Linked DNA regions of Homo sapiens: regions 1 and 2 are each linked to region 3. Evidence: promoter capture Hi-C in human tissues and cell types (Jung and others, 2019). All regions are on one chromosome and are shown on one strand. The core of a region is centred on a gene start or on the middle of the fragment in contact, and the rest is flanking DNA. Distances in the headings are between cores, read along the strand shown. Region 1 overlaps TANGO6 (transport and golgi organization 6 homolog). Region 2 overlaps CDH1 (cadherin 1). Region 3 holds the start of ZFP90 (ZFP90 zinc finger protein).

Evidence for each region. The method cuts DNA at HindIII sites, captures the fragments that hold promoters and counts their contacts. A contact is called where the count stands out against the background at its distance.
Region 1: a fragment that was not itself captured here is called in contact with the fragment with the promoter of ZFP90 in region 3 in 6 of the 25 tissues and cell types used here (H1 embryonic stem cells, heart left ventricle, liver and 3 more).
Region 2: a contact is called between a fragment that was not itself captured here and the fragment with the promoter of ZFP90 in region 3, in 14 of the 25 tissues and cell types used here (H1 embryonic stem cells, IMR-90 fibroblasts, adrenal gland and 11 more).

What each region holds. Positions count from the first base shown.
Region 1 is chr16:68,927,902-68,931,050 of GRCh38, forward strand. It overlaps TANGO6 (transport and golgi organization 6 homolog), which reads left to right. Exons shown (of 18, transcript NM_024562.2): 13 at 1-182; 14 at 2,337-2,394. Among named protein-coding and RNA genes, the nearest start is that of TANGO6, 86 kb to the left of the region's middle. The HindIII fragment of the contact is 4,152 bases long and covers 1-3,149 here.
Region 2 is chr16:68,795,427-68,798,529 of GRCh38, forward strand. All of the region lies in intron 2 of CDH1 (cadherin 1), which reads left to right. Among named protein-coding and RNA genes, the nearest start is that of TANGO6, 47 kb to the right of the region's middle. RefSeq lists enhancers at 1-279, 280-780. The HindIII fragment of the contact is 4,503 bases long and covers 1-3,103 here.
Region 3 is chr16:68,537,833-68,540,600 of GRCh38, forward strand. ZFP90 (ZFP90 zinc finger protein) reads left to right here and starts at 1,459. Exons shown (of 5, transcript NM_001305203.2): 1 at 1,459-1,647; 2 at 1,926-1,993. The coding sequence starts at 1,961. The HindIII fragment of the contact is 20,432 bases long and covers 1-2,768 here.

The DNA of each region.
Region 1 (3,149 bases), core at 464-2,963, 390 kb after region 3:
ATGAGCCCAGCACTACTACAAGTCAGAAATCTGGAAGCGTAACCACAGAACAGCTCCAAGAGGTTCTTTTGTCAGCTTATGACCCTCAAATTCCAACACGGGCTGCTGCCCTGCGTACTCTTTCCCACTGGATAGAGCAGAGAGAAGCAAAAGCCCTTGAGATGCAAGAGAAGCTTCTCAAGGTGAGTAGAACACACTGTAAAGACACATGGGCACAGGGTGGGGCATTCATTCAACTCAAGTATTTTTGGAGCCTGGACTATGTGTCAAGTGCTGTTCTGGACCACCCTCCAGAAATTTGTGAATTTTGTGAGGAGGCAACACTTAGACACAGGAAAGATTTATTTAGACACAGGAAAGACTTAAACTCCTCAAATGAATATGAACTGAGTGCCAATTTTTTTTTTTTTTTTTTTTTTTTGAGATGGAATCTCGCTCTGTCCCCCAGGCTGGAGTGCAGTGGTGCAATCTCGGCTCACTGCAAGCTCCGCCTTCTGGGTTCACACCATTCTCCTGCCTCAGCCTCCCGAGTAGCTGGGACTACAGGTGTCTGCCACCACCCCCGGCTAATTTTTTGTATTTTTAGTAGAGACGGGCACCATGTTAGCCAGGATGGTCTCGATCTCCTGACCTCGTGATCCACCTGCCTCGGCCTCCCAAAGTGCTGGGATTACAGGCGTGAGCCACCACACCCATCCTTCAAAATTTTTGCATGCAAGAAATGCTGTGGGCAGTCAGGAAAAAGAGAAAGTTGAAATCTTCTGGAGGATGTAGGCCTTAATATGGCCATAACAAACTAGTAAAGTTTGAGCAGATGAAAGAGGGGTGGGATAGCTTGAACAAATTCCCAGAGATGGGAAAGTACCTTTTGTGATAAATAGGTCTGCTTCAACACTGTGACCCAGCCCAGATAAGCCACCTGTTTTCTCTGGGCATCTTTAGTGGGGCGTTGGGCAAAACTGGGTCTCCTCCCCTCTTCTCTCCCTTCATCGTGGTGAAATAGCTGTTTTTTGTTTTGTTTTGTTTTGTTTTTTTGAGACAGGGTCTCGCTCCGTCGCCCAGGCTGGAGTGCAGTGGTGCGATCTCAGCTCACTGCAATTTCCACCTCCTGGGTTCAAGTGATTCTTCTGCCTCAGCCTCCCAAGTAGCTGGGATTACAGGTGCCCACCAACACACCCAGCTAATTTTTGTACGTTTAGTTGAGATGAGGTTTCACCATGTTAGCCAAGCTGGTGTTGAACTCCTCACATCAAGTGATTCACCTGCCTCGGCCTCCCAAAGTGCTGGGATTACAGGCATGAGCCACCGCGCCTGGCCTTAAATATCCTTTTATACACCTATTTGAAGGTGAATTCAATGAACATCTTGGAATTTTTTTTAGCTTAATTAAACCTTCTTCTGCTGTACATAATTGGTCACCAAGTCCTGTCAATTCTTTTTTCAAAGAAGTCTTTCAAATGTATCTTATCCTCTTTATTTCCATGGCCATTACCCTAAATTAAGCTTCCCTTGCTTACTCCATAAAAGATTCCCTACCTTCAAAACTGGCCGTCTTCCTAACTGGGGTAATTTTAGGCTCTCCGTACATACTTCACATGTAGAGACCAGCAGCATCAAGTTGATGTCAAGAATTACTGTGCCAACGAAGAACACAGCATTATATATGGAGCAGACACTTCCGTCTTCCTTTCTCTGGCTCTCATGTTGGGGCCTAAACCTAACATATCATGTAATATCTTCCAGATAAGCTGTACTCACTGTAGTTGATACCCCTGATAGGTTCCTAAATTGTAAGATATTTTGAGAGTAATTTGTTACTAATATCAATTAAAGTGCTGAAATTTACAAGATTTTCAAAAATAAATTAGAACAGATTCAAAGTTATCTCAATAATAACATCTCTATCTCACTTGCACTTCCATATGCTTTGTGAGTACAAGAGAAAAGGATCAAATTGCAGCAAATGTGCCATCCATTGCACATAACCCCAAACCTTGTCTCTTGTGTGTCACACCCCGTAGTCTGTCATGCCATATGTGAGAATGTTATTCACCATGGCTGTCATGGAAAAATGTTGAGGATTGTTCTTCCATCGGTTTCCAGGACTACTGCTGGAAGAATACAAGTATCTCCCCCAGTCTCTATACTTTTTTAATGGTTATAAAAATGAGACTTAAGCATATATGCCATTTCCCCCACAAAACTCTGTCAGACCAGTTTCTACCCAAGAAAAACAAGAAGCGAAGCATTTACTCCTTTGAGCTGCTGATAAGGGAGCCTCTTAAATCTTCCTTGTTCTTTGTAAATCTTATCACTGCTGTATTTTGTGGTTCCAGATATTCTTGGAAAACTTGGAACATGAAGACACTTTTGTATATCTATCTGCAATTCAGGGTAAGTCAGTCCTGGTTAAAGGACTTTAAGTATGTGGACCAGAGACTGTATCATGTTTATTTGCACAAAATCTCTAAAGTCCTAGGGCCAGGAGACTACTGGTCATTTTGTCCGTCTTCCTGCCTCCTAGCTAGGACACTTTAAGTCATAATAATAATATTCCTGAAGGGTTTCCAAAGAGTCCCTATAGAGTTTCAGTGTCTCATAATGATGAGGAAGTTTTTATTAATGTTTACATATTCTGTAGATTAAATCGTATTTCCTCTAATTCAAGGAGGTAAAGAATGACTCACACATGAACTCTTATCACATTAACCTTTTATGTTAGTCGGCTACTGTCTTTTTTTTTTTTTTTTTTGAGACAGAGTCTCGCTCTGTCACCCAGGCTGGAGTGCGGTGGTGTGATCTCAGCTCACTGCAACCTCTGCCTCCCGGGTTCAAGTGATTCTCCTGCCTCAGCCTCCCAAGTAGCTGGGATTACAGGTGCCCGCCACCACGCCCAGCTAATTTTTTATATTTTTAGTAGAGACAAGGTTTCACCATGTTAGTCAGGCTGGACTCGAACTCCTGACCTCCAGTGATCCACCCACCTTGGCCTTCCAAAGTGCTGGGATTACAGGCGTGAGCCACCACGCCCAGCCTCAACTACTGTCTATATGCACCTTTGCTCTCTCGTTAAGCTAAAAGAACTCAGGGTATTAAATATTTTCTTATCAAAAAATTTTTTGCAGTAACTTTATTTCTCTTTTTATGGT
Region 2 (3,103 bases), core at 287-2,786, 260 kb after region 3:
GCTTCGCAAAATGGTGAGATTACAGGTATGAGCCACCATGCCTGGCTAGTTCTCTGATTTTTTTGTTTGTTTGTTTGTTTTTGAGATGGAGTCTTTTTTGCTCTGTCACCTACACTGGAGCGCAATGGTGCAATCTCTGCTCACTGCAACCTCTGCCTCCTGTGTTCGAGCAATTCTCCTGTCCTGGCCTTCTGAGTAGCTGGGATTACAGGTGCCCGCCACCATGCCTGGCTAATTTTTTGTATTTTCAGTAGAGACGGGGTTTCACCATGTTGACCAGGCTGGTCTTGAACTCCTGACCTCAGGTGATCCACCTGGCTCGGCCTCCCAAAGTGCTGGGATTACAGGCATGAGCCACCATGCCCAGCCAGTTCTCTGATCTTGTCCTCCAGTTTTTATGTGTAACTGAGGCTGAGCTCTCAAGTTCAAATGGTCTTTGAATAAAGCTAAATGCAGGCCGGGTGCGGTGGCTTATGCCTGTAATCCCAGCACTTTGGGCGGCCAAGGCAGGCGGATCACAAGGTCAGGAGTTCGAGGTTATCCTGGCCAACATAGTGAAACCCCGTCTCTACTAAAAATACAAAAGATTAGCCGGGCGTGGTGGCAGGCACCTGTAATCCCAGCTACTCGGGAGGCTGGGGCAGGAGAATGGCTTGAACCCGGGAGGTGGAGGTTGCAGTGAGTTGAGATCCTGCCATGGCACTCCAGCCCGGGTGACAGTGCGAGACTCTGTCTTTAAAAACAAAAAAAAAAGAATTGCTAAATGCAGTATTCTTTGGTGTTCGCTGTGGGAAATGTGTTCTGATGAGAGGGAGGCAATCCATAATGTGCCCCTTTGTATGCAGGGTGGGCAAAACACTGCTTCCAACTAGTTACGTCTAAGATACTAGGTTATCCCACTGGTTACCAAACAACTCAACTATGGTTTGCTGCCTTCCATAGCTGGCCCTGTCCTTAAATCCCAACATCGTCTGAAAATAATATAGAAGCTTTTGAGACTGTCTTGTTTCTACCCACTCACATTCCAGTTATGGGACCAGGCGGGCGTGGGAGAAGAAACGGGATCGTCAAAGTGGGACTGTTCCGTGTGGCATGATGGCAATTTCAAGCAAGGAATGTTGCTGAATGCTCAGAGCCTGCCCCAGGACCAAAAGCTTTTCATGAACTTGGGTTTCATTTGTATTTGAACATCAGTCATCTCTCTTGGGGTCCTCTCTTGAAAGCTACTTTTGCCCAGTAGGCTAGAAAGTGGGGCACCGTAGGTTTAATAGCAGCATGCAGGGATGACAGAGTATTAAAAACACTTTTTAAAAGTCATTCTTACTAGTTTTTGTCATGAAAAAAAAAAGAATTCATTCTAATTGTAACAGGCCAAGTAATACAAGGATATATAAGGAAAATATGTTGTTGTTGTTTTCAAACTGCCTCCTGGCCAGGCACAATACTTGTATCTGTAATCCCAGCACTTTGGGAGGCTGAGGTTGGTGGATCGCTTGAGGCCAGGAGTTCAAGACCAGCCTGGGCAACGTGGCAAAACCCCATCTAGTCCTGTAAACATAAAATTACATTTTTTGCTGAAATACAAAAAATACAAAAATTAGCTGGGTGTGGCAGCACATGCTTAAAATAGAGCATGGCACATTAATATTCTACACATGTTTAAAATACTAATAAAATAGGCCAAGCATGATGGCTCATGCCTGTAATCCCAGAACTTTGGGAGGCTGAGGCAGGTGGATCACCTGAGGTCAGAAGTTCATGACCAGGCTTGGCATCATAGCGAGACCCTGTCCCTACAAACAATAATTAAAAATTTGCTGCGGTGGAGTACACCTGTAGTCTCAGCTACTCTGGAGGATGAGGTGGGAGGATGGTTTGAGCCCAGGAAGCTGAGGCTGCGGTGAGCTAGCGTTTGTGCCACTGCACTTTAGCCTGGGTGACAGAGTAAAACCCTTTCTCAAAAAATTAAAATGAGGCTGGGCTCAGTCATTCACTTCTGTAATCCCAGCACTTTGGGAGGCCAAAGCGGGAAGATGGCTTGAGCCCAGGAGTTTGTGAGCAGCCTGGGCAACGTAGTCAGACCCCATCTCTACAATAAATAAAATTAGCCAGGCATGGTGGCATGTACCTGTAGCCCCAGCTACTCAGGAGGCTGAAGCAGGAGGATTGCTTGAGCCCCGAAAGCCAAGGCTGCAGTGAGCAGTGTTTGCACCACTGCATTCCACCCTAGGTGACAGAGACCTGTCTCAAAAAGCACACAAATAAAATTAAATAAAATCTGAATAAAATAGTTCATAAAAGCTAATTGAAGCTTAGTTGAGGCTGCAGTTTTTGATGATGGTGATGATATTGTAATGAAAAGACTTTCCCAGCTGGGCACAGTGGCTCACACCTATAATCCCAGCAGTTTGGGAGGCAGAGGCGGGCAGATCACTTGAGGTCAGGAGTTCGAGACCAGCCTGGCCAACATGGTGAAACCTTGTCTCTACTAAAAATACAAAAATTAGCTGGGCGTGGTGGTGTGCACCTGTAATCCCCGCTACTCGGGAGGCTGAAGCAGGAGAATTGCTTGAATCTGGGAGGCAGAGGTTGCAGTGAGCCCAGATTGCACCATTGCACTCCAGCCTGGGTGACAGAGTGACACTCTGTCTCAAAAAAAAAAAAGACTTTCCCACATGGAGATGGCCAGTAGTGGGGAGTGGGGTCTTAGCTTCTTTTGTTGGGATTTGGTTTTTACACCAAGTCACCAAATAAGTTTATGAAAGGTGGGCATACTGGGTTAAAGAACACTTAGACCCTTGTTAGCTTTATTTTTGTTAGCTTTTTTTATGGGCATGTTGAAATATACCCAGTCCCCGTATTCTGATCCTCCAGTTTCAACATTTTGCCATTCTTCTTTCCTCCCACTTGCTGGGCTCAGAGACAACCCAGCCCTTGCCAGCGTGACAGTGAGCTTCCCAGAGCCTTTCTGGAGCTGAAGAACCTTTCAATCTTTCCTACAATTTCCTATAATCAGCCCAGGGGATCAGGTTGCATGGGGAGATAATGAGTCTTATGAGCACCTGGAATTCAGGTTGGGGCTCCTCGTCATACTGTCACTTCT
Region 3 (2,768 bases), core at 209-2,708:
GTTATTTCATTACTTGTTAGCCCCTTGCGCAGGATTTTGTGTTTGGGACAAGCCAACAGTGATGGAAATTTTCTCCCTTTTTTGTTTTGTTTTTTTTGAGATGGAGTTTTGCTGTTGTTGCCCAGGTTGGAGTGCAATGGTGCAATCTCGGCTCACCACAACCTCTGCCTCCCAGATTCAAGCGATTCTCCTGCCTCAGCTTTCTGAGTAGCTGGGATTACAGGCATGCGCCACCAAGCCTGGCTAATTTTGTATTTTTAGTAGAGACGAGCTATCTCCATGTTGGTCAGGCTGGTCTCGAACTCCTGACCTCAGGTGATCCGCCAGCCTCAGCCTCCCAAAGTGCTGGGATCACAGGCTTGAGCCACCGCACCCGGCATAAAGCATTTATTTTTGAATGTTCATATTTTTGATAAAGCAGTGTGACATCAGGAACATTTCGTTGCAGTCATTTTCTACCATGTTGGTATGCAATGCTCTAATGTTAAGAAATCAAGCTGAAATCTAGGAAATGTAGCCTGAATGTCTGTGATATATAAGACATAATTACATAAACGTAATAGCTGTATCTAAAAGTTGACCTATCTTTGTGTTGAAAATTTCCATCGGGCCGGGCGCGGTTGCCCATGCCTGTAATCCCAGCACTTTGGGAGGCCGAGGCGAGTTCGAGACCAGCATGACCAACATGGAGAAAACCTGTCTCTACTAAATATACAAAATTAGACGGGCCTGGTGACGCATCGCATGCCTGTAATCCCAGCTACTCGGGAGGCTGAGGCGGGAGAATCGCTTGAACCCAGGAGGCGGAGGCTGCGGTGAGCCAAAATCGCGCCATTGCACTCCAACCTAGGCAACAAGAGCGAAACTGTGTCTCAAAAAAAAAAAAGAAAATTTCCATCATTGTTTGCTTGTCCCAAACAAAATCCTGCGTAAGGGGATACGAAGTAATGAAATAACACGGCAGTAGATCTGCCTTTGCACATTGCTCAGGAGGCCACGGATTTGTCCGAAGTTTCTTTTTTCTCTAAAATGAGAAATGGAAAATTGCCTTTTGAAGAAGATGTAAATGCCCCACCCTCTGACGCTGTCTCACTCCCTTCCTGTGTCACTCTTACCGCTGAAGTCAGGACCTGACATTATCTTGTTGACATGTTTGCGTTTTTATCGTCAGCCTCGTCGAAAGGGGCGTACGATTGCTCCCCGAAACCAGGGTCTTTCCCGGCCGATTCCCCAGCTAGCAACAAGCCCCTTGCAAAGAGGAGGCGGACAGTGACTGGAATACAGGGACACGCACACTCGAGCCACACTGGCCGCCTCCCTCGGCCCTCGCAAGGGTCCCTAACGCGCCTTCGGAAGCCGCCTAGGCGGGGCCTGCGCGCGCGGGCCTCTGGGAAGTGTAGTTCGCGCGCCCGGCGTGGACCCGGGGTTGCAGGAGCGAGGCTCCGAGTGCGCAGGCGCACTTCCAGTTCTGCCCCACCGCTGCGGCCATTGTCCGACCCCGGTGCGGCTGAGGCCCCTTTGGGCAGCCCCTCCGCAGATCAGAATTGGAGATAACCGAGGCTTCGGCGGGGGCGGGAGGAGCTGCCCGAGGCTCTGGGTGGGCCGGAGGTCGCGAAATCCGGAGCCCCCCAGAGGCGGTGATTCTGAGTGCGCGGGTCTGGGCGGGACCCCTCCTGGGTTTGGCGGGTGTCAGCCGGGCCTCGCCCACCACCCTGCGAAGGGGACTGGGCGTGGCCGGAGGGGGGTGTCCGGGAGGCCGCTGAGCCTTTCATTTCGGGGATGGGGAGCGGCAGGCCCGGGCTGGTTCCACGGTCCTCGCCACCATCTCCCCTGGAGATGTGGTTTAGGGGCGGAGGTGGGGCGGGGCGGGGCGGGGTGGGGTCGGTGTTGCAGCGGGGTGAGTGGGCCCTGTCCTTTCTCCCCAGCTCCTGCCCCGGAGCCGGGCCCTGGCGAGGCAGGAATGGCCCCGAGGCCTCCGACCGCCGCGCCCCAGGTGAGCAACGCGTTCCTAACCTCCTGGGCATCCCATCCATCTATCCATCCCATCTCCCAAGGGTGTTTGGAGCAGTCATTGTTCTCTGCCTGGCGACTCCCTTACTTGCTTGGCTCGATCGGAGCCTCCTGGCCATGGAAAACCCCAGGCTTTGGGGAGCTGGATTCCCAAAGGGGAGGCTGCTCTGTGGGGTAGAGAGGGCCAGTGTGGTGCGATCTTGTGGGAGGAGTTGAGATTGGATGCGTTGGGAAGTGTCAGTTTTGAGAGTCCTGAATGCCACGCCAGTTTTTTGAACTCTTGTCAATAAGAAATGGAGAGAGTGGGGTCACAGGATGGAACACTGTAGAGGAGGAAGTGACTGTCGGCAAGTGTGGAGAGAGGAGCCCCAGCTTCTGACCCAGGGCCCATAGAGAGTCCGTAAGGGGCCGTAGAAGCCTGGTTAGAACATGTCTAGGAAGAGGCTGGAGATGGGCTTTCTTGGGCAAGGAGGCAAAAACAAAACAAAATAAAAAACAACCAAAAATAAAACCAGGGCTGATTCTCCCAGAGCTTTTTGTGTCTGTCCTTTTCTGCTTTAACAAAAATGTAATAGAGCAACTCACTCCCCACCGCCAGAAGTCCAGCCTTCACCTTAATGTGAGGCTGATTCGTGAACCCATTTATTCTTGTGGCAGAGGGGGCATTTTCTAGAAGCGTCACAACTCTAAGGTTATCCATTGATTTACATATTGGTGAAAATACATCAAGATCCAGATGGTATCTGTATCTTTGAATC